Regions from separate parts of the Homo sapiens genome. Here region 1 is linked to region 2. The links are contacts of gene promoters, found by promoter capture Hi-C in human tissues and cell types (Jung and others, 2019). All regions are on one chromosome and are shown on one strand. The core of a region is centred on a gene start or on the middle of the fragment in contact, and the rest is flanking DNA. Distances in the headings are between cores, read along the strand shown.

Region 1 (7,120 bases), core at 3,806-6,305, 34 kb before region 2:
ATTAGGTCAACTGACTCCAAATCCAAAGTGTATTCCATTCCACTCTGTCTCAAATACTTAAAACCCAAATGCACATGCATGCACACACATGTGAAAGTGCATGAGAGTGCATGCACACACATACACACACACACACACACACACATGCATTTGCCATTTAAAATTACTGGGCTCTTATACCCACGCTACCTTCGCTATAGTAACTGGGGCCCTGTAACCAGGGAACCAGCCATAGGAGATATTGAGGGGATAAAGAACAGAGATATATTGTGCCCTAGATGCCCTGTTTTTTGGCAGCAGTTCATTCTTTCGCCGTTTGTGACCTCCCATAACAGCTGGAGTGGTCAACCAGAGATGCAACCAACTGCAGCTCCAAGATGTGTCCCCTGCCTGATAGCTGACCTCAGAATGATCAGAATGAGGCCAGACACCATTGTAAGTGGAAGCCTTCCAGTTCCATAGGAAGTACAGAACTGAGCCACATAGAGAAACACACTGGAATTGCTGGCATTAAAGACTACACAGAATGCTGGCCTCTGACTGCCCTTTCTTGGCTGTCCTGTGGAGACCAGAGACAGTCCTAATAGAAGAGGAAAAGCTGGGGTGAGGGATGTCTGCTATTCTAATGAGGCTGAAACAAGGACTTCATCTTTGGTTGTTATATAGAACCCTTATATATGTTTGTCCCTTCAGTTAACAGTAAGGTATCTCTTCTAATAAGTGATTAATTCTAATATTCTCTTCCAGTGACAGGTGATTGGAAGCTTGTCCATAGAGACGAAAGTAAACCCACATGATCTGAAGGGAAGGGGACAGGTGAGATGATACAGACTGGGGCCGAATCCTGATCAGGCCAGGAATTAGGAGAGAAGTACAATTTATTGGTTTATCTTGAAAGGGGAGTCATGGAGATTTTACTGAAGATTTTATAGAGAGATAAGGAAGAGAATTTTCACTAAACATCAGAGGCAGCACTTGCTGAATTTCTCTCAGTGTCTCTGTTCTTCCCTCTTGTAAATCTGCTGCCTCATTCCTCATCCATCTCCCTCCCCACAGCCCCACAACCTCATCTATGGGTTGTTTTTCAACACTGATTAGTCCATGAGACCTCAAGGACACAGATTCTCAGATCCTCCTCCTGTGTTGTTCAAGTCCCTCTATCTCTTGGCCTTCAGTGGAGCTCCACTTCCCATCCTAATCCACTGCCCATACCAAGGTCATATTTAGATTTACACACTGTCAGCCTCTTTCAGGGTAGAAACCTTGTCTTGTATTTCTTTACATCTCCTACAGTGCCTATCAAAAATGCTGTCTGAAATTCGCAAAATTCCTGGAGATTTTTGCGCTGAGTACCAGATAAAATCAATACGTGAAATTGCTTTGAAAACAATAAAATAAAGTAGAGCTATAGTCAGTCATGAAGTAAGAAGCCCAGAGCAATACTCACATAGATCATAAATGTTGCAACTCGGTTTCCTGACTTCATTCTGTAGAGGGGGCTGCTTGGTGACTGAGAAAAAAAAAAACAGAACATATTATTTTATGCAGATGGCACCAGAGGGACAGGCAGGATTCCACTATTAATACAAATAGAAGTAAAATGGGGGCATCAAAGATGGGATATAGTTCTGATATACACCTACTGGAGTATGTGCCCGTCTTTGCTGGCAGGTACTCAATACAATTTTTTTTTTTACTAATTTATTAGATACTTATATAAAAGAATTGTCTACTACCAAACAGAACTACTTGTCAGTAGTGAAAGTACTATATGAGGGGTTAATTGCACCTTTGAGTTCTCTGTGAAATATAGAAATTAATATATAAAATATTACAGACAATTATTCTGTAGAAATACCAAATCATAAGGCCAGAGTTCCAATTACTTGCTGAAGAGACATACTCTTTTTTTTTTGTCATGGAACAGTTTGAGATATGATTTATATTCCATAAAATTCACCCCTTGTAAGCCTACTGTTCAATGAGTTTTCCCACAATTGAAGTTTAGAACACAGAACACTTCCATCTGCTGAAAAGCTCCTTCATGCCAGTTAGGAGTCAATCCCTGCTCTCACCTCCAACCTCAGGCAACCCACTTATCTGCTTTCTCTCTATAGCATTCCATTGTGCAGATATATCAAAATTTGTTTATCCGTTCACCTGTTGACAGACATCTGGGCTGTTTCCAATTCTTGGTTTTTTTTTTGTTTTTTTTTTTTTGTTTTTGAGATGGAGTCTCACTCTGTTGCCCAGGCTGGAGTGCAGTGGCGTGATCTCAGCTCACTGCAACCTCTGCCTCCCAGGTTCATGCCATTCTCCTGCCTCAGCCTCCCAAGTAGCTGGGACTACAGGCGCCTGCCACCATGCCCAGCTAATTTTTTTTTTTTTTGTATTTTTAGTAGAGACGGGGTTTCACTGTGTTAGCCAGGATGGTCTCGATCTTCTGACCTCGTGATCCGCCTGCCTTGGCCTCCCAAAGTGCTGGGATTACAGGCATGAGCCACCGTGCCCAGCCCCAATTCTTGGTTATTACAAATAAAGCTACTATAAACTTTTCTGTACAAATGTTTGTAGAGACATATTTTCTTTTTCTTTTGGGTAATATACATAGGTGTGAAATGGCTGGATCATAAGTAGGTGAATCTTAAACTTTTTAAGAAACCATCAAACTTTTTTCCAAAGTGTCTGTATAATTTTGCATTCCCACTAGCAGTGTATGAGAGCTTCAGTTCCTCCACATCCTCACCACCACTTGGTATAATCTTATTTTATTGTAGCCATCATAAGAGAGTGCAGTGCTATCTCATTGTGGTTTTAATTTGCATTTCCCTAATGATGTTGAGCATCTTTCCATATGTTTCTTAGCCATTCATTTATCCTTTTTGGAGAGGTGCCTACTCAAATAACTTTCTGTCCATTAAAAAAAATTGAATTATCTTATTACTGAGTTATAAAAGTTCTATAGATATTTTGGATACAAGTTCTTTACCAAATATATGATTTGCAAATATTTTCTCCTAGTTGGTGGCTTGTCTTTTCCTTTTCTAATGATGTTTTTTGAAAAGCAAAGAATTTTAATTTGATAAGGTCCAATTTATCAGTTGTTTTCTTCTTTTATGGATCATACTTTGGTGTCATATCTAAGAAATCTTTGCCTAACCTGTGGTCACAAAAATTTTCTCTTATGTTTTCTTCTAGAAGTTTTATAGTTTTACATTTACATCTATGACCCATTTTGTGTTAATTTTCATATATGGTGTAAGGTAAGGGTGTAAAGTCATTATTATTTTGCAGATAGATATTAAATTGTTCCAATACTGTCTATTGAAAAGATTGTATTTTCTTCATTGAATTTCCTTGGCACCTTTGTCAAAACCAATTGATCATAAATGTGTTGGTTTGTTTCTGGACTCTGTTCTGTTCCATTGACATATGTGTCTCTCCTTACACTGGTACCACACTGCCTTGATTCCTGTAGCTCTATATTAAGTTTTGAGATCAGATAGTGTATGTCCTCCAATTTGTTCTTCTTTTTCAAAATTGTTTTGGCTGCTCTAGGTTTTTTGCATTTCCATATACATTTTAGGATCAGCATGCTAATTTCTACAAAAATAAACCTCCTGGAATTTTTATAAAGCTGGGGTTCAATTTATAGATCAATTTTGGGGAGGTCATTTTAATCCTCAAAAATCACTACTGGGTATCTACCCAAAGGAAAATAAAGTATTATATTACAGAAAAAACACCTGCACCCAGATATTTATTGCAGCACTATTCACAACAGCAAAGTCATGGAACCAACCTAAATGTCCATCGATGGTTGATTTGATAAAGAAAATAAGGTATATATACATAACAGAATACTATCCAGCCATAAAAAGAATGAAATAATTTCCTCTGCAGCAACATGGATGGAGCTGGAGGCCATTATCCTAAGTGAACTAACTCAAAAGCAGAAGATAAGATATTGCATGTCCTCACTTATAAGTGGGGGCTAAACAATGGGTACACATGGACATAAAGATGGAGGTAACAAACACTGGAAACTGCAAAATGGGGGAGGGTGAAAGGGGAGTGAGAGTTCAAAAATTACGTGTCAGGTAAAACATTCAATAGTTGGGTGATGGGTACACTAGAAGTGTGGTCCCCACCATTACACATGCAATACCCATATAACAAGTATGGCTGGGTGCAGTGGCTCACTCCTGTAATGTCAGCACTTTGGGAGACTGAGGTGGGAGGATCGCTTGAGCCCAGGAGCTCAAGACAAGCCTGGGCAACATAGCAGGACCTTGTCTCTACAAAAAAAATTTTTTTAAATTAGCCAGGTGTAGTCCTAGAGCTACTTGGGAGGCTGAGATGGGGGGATCACTTAGCCCAGGAGTTCAAGACTGCAGTGAGCTATGATGGTGCCACTACACTGCAGCCTGGGCAACAGAGCAAGATGCTGCCTATAAAGAAAAAAATAAATACATAAATAAATACGTAAATAAAAAACAAGCACATGTACCCCATGAATCTAAAATTTTAAAAAAATTATTTGCTATTATCAGCAAAGATGGCCAGTTGAGATCATGAGGCTAGAAGAGTTACTGGAGGAAGGACAATCCTCACTAGGAAGTCCCTGAGTGGAGCAGTCCGATGATTCCATGACAAGCCACATTCTTCCCTCACCAGCAAATTTTAGAAGGGAGATGGTGGCAGACAAGAAAATGAGTCAGCAACAATATGCTTGAAACTAAGGCTTTCAGATATTTCTGGAAAAAGAACCTTTGTTCTAAGATTTCACTTAGTATTCCCTGAGAGCCTACAAGAGCTCTGCCTCAGAGAAATAAATAATGCCCTGGCTCCCTACCCCAGGGGATTGGTCATTGACTCCACCATTACCGTAGCATGGTCAAAGTGAGGCTCATAGTGTCCTCCGATGCCATAGTTCACCACCTGCAGATACTCTGCATAGGGAGGCCGGACATCAAGGCCTGTGAGGGCAGCAATGCGGTGGTTGAGGGTCACCAGTTTTGGGTCAACAGTGTCCTTCAGCCAGGCACTAAAACACACCACAGATTGAAGCATCAATGATCTGTTGCCCGAAATGACTAAATGACGTCTCTGAATGAATGAATAAACAAATGAATTATGTTAATTGCCAGAAGGAAGGATGGAAGGAAGGAGGAAAGAGAGGGAGGGAAGACAGACATAAATGCCTAATTACCTATGCATTCCTCATGTTAAGTCTGCCCAGTCCACTTTGTTCTCTACCTCAACAAACTCACAGCATTGAGATACAAAGAGGAATAAGACAAAACCCCTGCCTTCAAAGCTGCTATGGTGTAGAGACATCTGAACAGAGGGACCCGGGTACAGTGGGAAAAGCTTGTGATTTAGAGAAATGTGACGAGTCCCTGATCCTCTGTGATCCTAAGTCAAGTATTTAACCATTAACCTCTCTAAGGGTCAGTGTGTTGTCTATAAAATTGGGATGATAATAATATCTACTTCACAGACTTATAAAGATTGTGAGAGGCAATGCTTATGAAGACACTTTGTGAACTATACATTAGTGTTACTTTTAAACACAGGAAAATCTCTGCTCTACTGCAAGACAAGCCAGGATAGGGCAAAGGCCAAACAGCAGAGTTCAGTCTCTTTTCCTGAATGTCTTGTTGAGGTTCTGACAAAGTGGCAACTTTGGAATCAGAATTTACGTCCCTGGGAAGTGAGAAAGTGCTCCCTAAAGCCAGTGGGTCTCCTGGGGAGACGATAAGGCTCTGAGGGAACAGCCTTGGCATGATATGGAAGACCATTTCTTTGCTCTTTGCTTTTGATGGATTAGTGTGTTCATTCTTTCAAATAGAGTGCAAGCAGAGTGCTATGCCACATGCTCTTAGGTTACAGAGATCCCCAAGACAGAGCTATTGCCTTCTAAGAGCTCATGGATTATGGGGGAAAGGACAAACACAAATATAACTAAGAACAAAGTAAGGTACAGTGAAAAATTGAGAAACAGACTTTAAAGTGCTGGGAAGCACAGAGGAAGGAGAAGTTCATTCCAGTGGGGCACTCAGGTAAGATAGTGACATTTAAGCCAAATTTTGAAGAGTGCATAAAATTTCAATAGATGGAAAAGATGTAGGAGTATTCCAGCCTGAAGAAACAGCATAAGCACAGACATGGAGGTGTGGCAATAAATTATGAATAAGGAGATAGGAAGAAGTAACGGGAGATACAGCTGGAGAAGCAGGCTCAGGGCATGACATAGAAAACTGAAAACACTGTGATATGGAATCTGGACTTTATGGATAATGGGTACTCAGTGAAGGTGTGTGAGCAGGAAAATGATTTGGCAATTAGAAGTTCCCTGGTGACCTTTGGGAGACCAGCTCCAGCGAAGTTGTGAGGACAGAACCAAAAGTCAAAGAGTTGAAGAGTGATGCAAGTGGAGAAAGAAAGTAGTTTCTTGTTCGGAAAAGGGAAGAAAATACCACCTGCTCCCCTGGAAGCAATTAACCCAAGGCTGAATTTTCTCTCTGACACTAGAATATCAGAAAGGTTAGAAAAAGCAATGAGGCTGAGGTCATAGGGACCTTCCATAGGTTAGAGAATAACTACTAATATGAAAGGCCCTTAATGTACCAGACCAAGTAAGTTAAGCCAAATGATTCTGAATCACAGCTTTCATCACTCACCTCCCTTCCCAGACAGCACAAACTGATCTCCATCCTGAGGTCTGGCCTCCCCCCAAGGATGCTGACGTCACTGTCTCACATGTCTTTGGTGGATGTAAGTAAAGGGCTGCAGTGGGGGGTGGGCAGGGCTGGAGGGGTGGGATAAAGCTGGGCTCTCACAGCTGAATCTGCTCCTCTACAGAAGCCATCAGGGCCAGAGTCTATTTGTCCTTCTGGTCTCATTCTTGGCAAGTCATGCTTTCAATATGAGTCAGGAGGTGGGAATGGAATCTTGTAAAGTTAAATTACAAATGTGGACAGGACTGTATCTTCTGGAAAAGCAATCCTGTTTAGGAGAACAACTATAGACATATTTTTTGGTTTAGGGCAGAGGAGCTCTTCCAAGTCTCTCTCGAATGGCCTTCTAGTTAAACCCTCAGATGATCTAACAACCT
Region 2 (6,833 bases), core at 2,552-5,051:
GGAATTCAGAAATGGTTTTGTATCAGTTCTTCTGGGACATTATTAATGCTTAATCCTTAGCACAGAAAAAATTGCTGCTGACACTTCTCTCTCACTCTTGGTGGTGTTTTAAACTGCAAAAACAGCAACAACAAAAGCTAGGATAAACTCTTTTTATATATATAACTAGTATATGTACCATACTGGCATATAACTATATATACTATAACAAGTATAATTTTTATTCATTAACTTGGAGTAGGGAGTAGTTTCAACCTCAAGAATACTGCATTTTTCTATCTCAACTGAGAGCCTTGGAAATAGCCTCTCAAGTTACATAAAATCACCAGATTGGGAGTATAGAAAAATTAGCAAGAACTGCCAAAATTCTTGTTTTAAAAGGCAAACATAAAGGCTGGGCACGGTAGCTCATGCTTGCAATCCCAACACTTTGGGAGCCCGAGGAGGGAGGATCACTTCAGGTCAGGAGTTCAAGACCAGTCTGGGCAAGAGAGCAAGACCCCGTCTCTACCAAATCAAACCAAACCAAACAAAAACAAAAACAAAAAAACCCTAGCCAGGCATGGTGGTGTGCACCCGTAGTCCTAGTTACTTGGTAGGCTTAGGCAGAAGGATCACTTGAGCCAGGGGTTTGAGGTTATAGTGAGCTATGATAGAGCCACTGCACTCTAGCCTGGGTGACAGAGCAAGACCCTGTCTCTTAAAAAGCAAACATTTCACTGGGTTTTAGAGCAGTCACTAGAGAACAGAATGACAGAATGACAGTCTTCAAAATATCAAACTAAACTACAAAATTAACTGTTCATAAGTCACCTGAGAAAATAATTGAGAACTTTTCTGATTTGTTTTTTTATCTAGGCTGTCACAATCCTAGTTAATACTTAGAGCCAAAAGTGGGGCCTAGTTTCACTAGATGGTCTTAAAATAAAATAAAATAAAATAATAAGCATAAAGGCTTAGCATTTGTCCATCAATTGTTACATGCCAGGTACAATGATAAAAACTTTTACATGGTACTCTTAATCCTTCCAAAAACCCTATGGTGGTAGGTACTATTTTTATCATCATTTTACAGATTAGGAAACTAAAGCTCAAAGAGGTAAAGTAACTTGTCCAAGATCAGAGCCAACGATTCAAATAGAGGTCTGTTAAACTCCTGAATTCACTGTTAACCACCATGTACTGTGGCCACTAGTAAAACCTCAATTAGTTAGGGGCTTGGTCTATGTCTTGGTATAACAGATAAAAGAAGTGGTAGGGATAACATAGCATAGTAGGAAAAAAGTTGGATAAACAATCAAAACAACTGTGTCCTAGTCCTGGATTTGCTACCTATTAGATTTATTAATACAATCTTGAGTGAGCAACTAGACTTTAGTTTTCTCATGTTTTAACTGATTTCTCAATAGTTAACAAGTGTAATACAAATCTATTTCAAAGCATTGTGTGTGAGAGAGAATCAGATGAGATATGGTTTGTATGAGACCTCCTGCTGTGACAAAGTTGTGATAATGACAGTGGTGGAAAGACAGTGAAGGAGACCAGCATGGTGGAATGGGGTTGGCCAGCTGCTTTGGCCAAAATGCTTCAAGTGCTCTCTTCTGAGAATGTAACCTGAAAGACCAGCAGGGGGATTTTGACCCCCCACTCCCGTCTCCATCTGAGCTACCCAAAGAGATTACTGGTATGAGAACAAGCATGGGTAGCAGGGAGAATGCTGGGCTCTGAAATCAAAGAGAAAAAATTCTGTCCTATTTCCACTAATAAGCTTGGACTCCAATGACTCTGGGCTATGAACAAAAAGAAAACATTTGGCTCGGTCAACATGGACCCATAGAATACTAGACAACTATGCTATTCCAAAGAGTGACAATAATTATTGAAATGATCTTCATTTATTGTTAAAATTAATACATACCTATATTGTATATTGTCACACTATTTCAAGCTGTTTATACGCAAGCCACATACTTAAGGACAAGCACCACATTAGCTCATTCAGTCACTATTAACAAGATCTCTCGCAAATACTTTCCACCCACAAAATGCTTCTCTTCTACATAGCTCTCTCTCACAGTCATGGGGTCACAAAGTTTCGCACAGGGTGACAATGGGTTTGGGGGTCACACTGGACCTCAGAGTCACTCCCCATTCCACATACCTTCTTCTCATGTCACCCCAGAATCAGTATTATTACCACACACACTCACGCAAAGTTTTAAAAGCAGTGCATTGTGCTGTCTTTGCTCAATGATAAGGTCACATGATATAAGTACAATATTAATATATCCAAATAGTGACGTGGTCATAACCACTCTGTCAGTGTTGTAGGCTTCTTGATGTCCCAGGCAGAGAAGGCGCAGCACATATTCATACAGATGGTATCATATACAATCATTTATCTTTCATTTTTGTCAGTTGGACACTGCTAAGTCGATACATGACTATGGTGCCTCAGCATCCCAAGTCTGACAACCTTTTATGCCACAGTGTGTAGCACTAGAGTTTGTTGACTGTACCCCAAAACTATATTAGCTGAGCATCCACTGCTGTGTGCTACACTCAGTATCTTCTGCATCAAGTATGTTTTTTCACAGTGCTTTTTTGATATCAAATATGTTGACACACATATAACATCTCAGTTATCATTTATTTAGTATTTAGAGAGCTTCTACATGTGTAAAGAGAAGGAAGAACTGAAGACGTAGACGGCAGTGGACATCTCTGATTAACAGTCATGGTGCTACAGACCCAAACTCCTCGAGGGCAGAGTTGGCTCTTGATCACCATTTTATCCCCACTGCCTGGAACACTGCCTGGCTCTTAGTAGGCACTCAAAAATATGTGTTGTATGAATTAATGAACTGAAGCATTATTCATATAGCGACCTGTACAGTTACTCAGCATCATTCACATGCAGAGTATGATATCCACAGTGTCGTGCCCATCCAGTCCCAATGACATGTAAACCTCACATATGGTGGAAGACTGTCACCTGACTCCTAACACTAAACATCAGCTCACTAGGTCATGCGGTGTTTCACGATCCCCCCTTGAAAGGTCAATACTTGCGTAGCTAAAGCGTCACCGTATTCTCTCCATGTCACTCTCACAGTGTCTCTGTCACAGCACCGTCCACTGTGTCTGTGTCAGTGTGACACAGGGCCTGGGGCTCACACAGCTTTGCACAGCACATTGTGAGGTCCTAGAGTCACCCCGCCCCGCTCTTCCACAGTGTATCAACTTTGCTGTGTGACGCTGGATATGGGGGGTGCCACTATGTGTGTGATGGAGTCTGCAGTCCCAGTGTGACCCAACCCTCGCCAACACCTCATGCCACGGAGTGTCAGGGTCCCACACAGGGTGACAATGGGTCTAGGGGGTCACACTGGCCCTCAGAGCCACTCCCCACCCCATGCCACAATGTCTCAGTCGCACGGTGCGACAGTGGGTCTGGGGTCCCACGCAGCATGACAATGAGCCTGGGGTCACACTCAACCTGAGTCACCCCACCCTGCGGCACAGTGTATCCCACTGAGGCCCCTCGGTCGCTCCCACTCGTCGTGCCCTCACCTAGTCAGGTCCCGCAGCCGCGCCTCCTCCCCGCGCAGGTACCGCCTCAGCAGCCCCAGCAGCCGGCGCTCGGGCGCCAGGGCGCGCGCCACGCTGGTCAGCGCCGAGAACGTGTCGCCCCGAGCCGCAGCCCTTTCTGGGTCTCCTGTCCCGAGCGCCAGCACCGCCAGCAGCGCCGCCAGCCGCGCCCCAGGACCCATAGCCAGCGCTCGCGAACTTCCCCTCAGACAGTCCTGGCCGCGCGGCGGCAGCCGCTCCCGCCCTCGCCTGCCCCGCCCCTGTCTCCGCCCCCTCCCGGCTCAGGCCCCGCCCTCTGGCCCCGGCCCGGCCCGTCCCGTCCACCGCCCAGTCTCGCTCCACGCCCCCTGACTCCTTCCTTGTTTCGACGCCTCACCTCGCTCTCTATTCCTCAGCTCCTCGGAATGCGTGGGGGCTTCCTGCAACATCAGTCTCCGCCGCCCTCCACTAAATCGCGACCCTGGGAAGGTGTTTCCACTGTGCCCATCACACTAGGGGAAATTGAGGCGGAGGCAGGGTGAGCGATGAATTCACAGGTCTAAGGCTGTGACTATCCCCAAATATTGTTAACACCACGCTCACAGGATCCCCAAAATATCCGCCCCTCTGTACCATGGAGTGGGAATACACAAACACCACTGGATCCCCACAGGGACGTCCAGAAGAGTCAATTATGCGTATGTGAATAGGTGCGCAGGCAAAGAGCGGCAAGAGGACAGCTGGGAGGAAAACCCTCACAGAGAGCGTGACATCTGAGCCATCTGAAGGATAAGTAGGACTGTGTCAGGATGTGAGTATATGACAAATCTAGGACTTACAGAACCTGAAGCTCTGGGGTCCTAAAGTCACTGCTTTACACAATATACTTAGAGTCACTTAAGCAAATAAAAATATTATTATTATTATTATAGCCTACTAGGCTATGTACTCTATTTCCCCCCTCTTATGCATTTCCCAGGCAATGTTCATTCATGCAACAAATATTTATTAGTACCTGTGTTACTGTGCTGCCTACACAGAGAAATAGCAGATCCAATCCTGGACTCAAAGGAGGAGACAGTTATGTAAACAAGTAATCACAATAAAGTGCTGTCAGAGTAACTGAGGGTTGTGCAATATGCAATGGCAACACTGAAGAAGGAACCCTCATGTAGTGGGTGGAGAGGGCATCAGAGAGGAGGTGATGGGTGCTGGTTCAAAAGGATGAAAAAAATTGGAAGTTGACAGGCAAGGGAGGAGTGGGCTTTCCTGGCAGAAGGTACATGGGCGTGACAAGGTTTGGAGGTGGAAAACAGTTTGAGTTCCAGAAATGATGAAAAGTTTCTTGTGCTTGAAACTATCAGATTGTGAAAGGTCTTTGCATGTCATACTAAGAAATTTAGGTGCTTGTCCTCTATGAAAATCCAGTGGAAGTTTTTAAGGTAGCAATAATTGTAATAACAATGGCAACAGTAAACATAGTAGTTAATACTTACCGGGTGTTTCCTGTGTGGCAGTCGCCATCCAGAGTATTTTACATATATTAACTCATTTAATCGCTGTCCAGAGTATTTTACATGTATTAACTCATTTAATTCTCATGCTGACCCTATAGCCTAAGTAATATTAGTATTCTTACAGTATTATTGGCCCCACTTTACCGATGAGAAGACTGAATTGTAGGGACAATCATTAACCTACTCAGTGTTAATCACTTGTGGACCACATTCGAGGTGTGCTGGTAAACCAGCTCTCCAGGAAAAAAATAAAGTTCTGGTTTGTGGCATTTGCCAATTTCTGTGGTGTCAATTCTCCCACAGTGGCTAATTTCGACATGCAAAAATGTCACCACTGACTGTGGTTGGATAAAGATGCCAACAACTCCTGTGAGCTGGGGTGAGCCAGCTCCAGCACACCACTGCTTGTGTAGACATGAGATGTAACATGCAGATCCCCCTTCGAAGAAGGACTTGTTGCACAGCTGCAGGGTATGTGATGAGAAGAGTATCCAGTGGTCAGCTGCTTTAGGGTCTGTCCTATAGCAGAGAGCAGTCTCGCTTAGGGAAATGTCCTTCCTGGAACAGCCCTAATCCAGCAATGGAGCAAGGTGAGGGAATCAAGGCCTAGCCATTTTGGCCCATCGTGAGACAATTCTTACAGGAAATACTAGCTCCAGCGCACCTGCCACCTTGATCAAGGCTTTGTCAAGCCTCTTTGACTTCTTCCTCTGCCTTTTCCTGCTTCCTTTCCCTTTCGTAGATGCTGATCTCTAATAAACATCTTGCACCTCAAACTCCAGCTGTGCCTCTGCTTCTAGAAAACCCAATCTGTAACATCAATTCAATCAACATACATAGTAAGTGGTAGAGAAGGGACTTGAACCCAGGTCATGTGGATCCTGATTCCATATTCTTAATCAATACCAGAGGCAGATTTACCTAGAAGGTTTTGAAGCTTAAGCTTCAAGGCTCCTAGCTTGCACAAACCCTTTCTAACTGAGTAGCCTTCCCATAGAAGGTATTCTGACCATAGAAGATTAGGGACTGTGGTAGGCAGAATCATGCCCTCCCTCCAAAGATGTGCATGTCTTGATTCCCAAAACCCATGACTGTGTTACCTTACATGGCACAAGAGACTTTACAGATGTGATTAAGTTAAGGATCTTGACATTGGAGGATTATGCTGGTTTATCTTGGTAGTCCCGATGCAATCATGAGGGTCCTTAAAAGTCATAGAAGGAAATGTGACAATGGAAGCAAAGTCAGAAAGATTTAAAGATACTTAGTACTATATTGCTGACTTTAAAGATGAAAGAAGAGGCCACCAGTCAAGGATTGTGAACCGCTTCTAGAAGCTGGAAAGGCAAGGAAACAGGTTCTCCTCTAGTGCTTCCAAAAGGAACAGAGACCTGCTGACACGTTGATTTTAGTCCAGTGAAACCCATTTCAGACTTCGGAACTCCAGGGCTGTAAGACAATATATGTGTTGTTTTAAGCCACTGTGTTTGTGGTCATTTGTTTCAGCAACAGTAGGAAACTGATAAAGGAACCCAAAGGTATCTGCTTTGTATTGTCTCTGTCTCTTTAGCCCAAGTGGGCAGTACTTCTATTGATAAAATCATCTTAAAACCTTTGAGGATTTCCTGTAAATCTTATTGGAGTTCTTTCCGTTAGACAAAAACCATATCTATATTTCTTCCCAAGAAGTGCCCTTCTCTAACTTGGGCTGAGACTCAGGGTTGTGGTACAACAGTCTTAAAAGTC

The links. Contacts are between HindIII fragments. The study calls those that stand out against the background at their distance.
Region 1: a contact is called between a fragment that was not itself captured here and the fragment with the promoter of P4HA3 in region 2, in 1 of the 25 tissues and cell types used here (IMR-90 fibroblasts).

The regions. Positions count from the first base shown.
Region 1 is chr11:74,272,098-74,279,217 of GRCh38, forward strand. P4HA3 (prolyl 4-hydroxylase subunit alpha 3) reads right to left here. Exons shown (of 13, transcript NM_182904.5): 9 at 4,888-5,047; 10 at 1,448-1,510. Among named protein-coding and RNA genes, the nearest start is that of P4HA3-AS1, 36 kb to the right of the region's middle. The HindIII fragment of the contact is 3,974 bases long and covers 3,069-7,042 here.
Region 2 is chr11:74,307,839-74,314,671 of GRCh38, forward strand. It overlaps P4HA3 (prolyl 4-hydroxylase subunit alpha 3), which reads right to left and starts at 3,802. Exons shown (of 13, transcript NM_182904.5): 1 at 3,574-3,802. The coding sequence starts at 3,773. It overlaps P4HA3-AS1 (P4HA3 antisense RNA 1), which reads left to right and starts at 3,524. Exons shown (of 7, transcript NR_120556.1): 1 at 3,524-3,611; 2 at 3,987-4,108; 3 at 4,281-4,381. The HindIII fragment of the contact is 9,884 bases long and covers 1-6,833 here.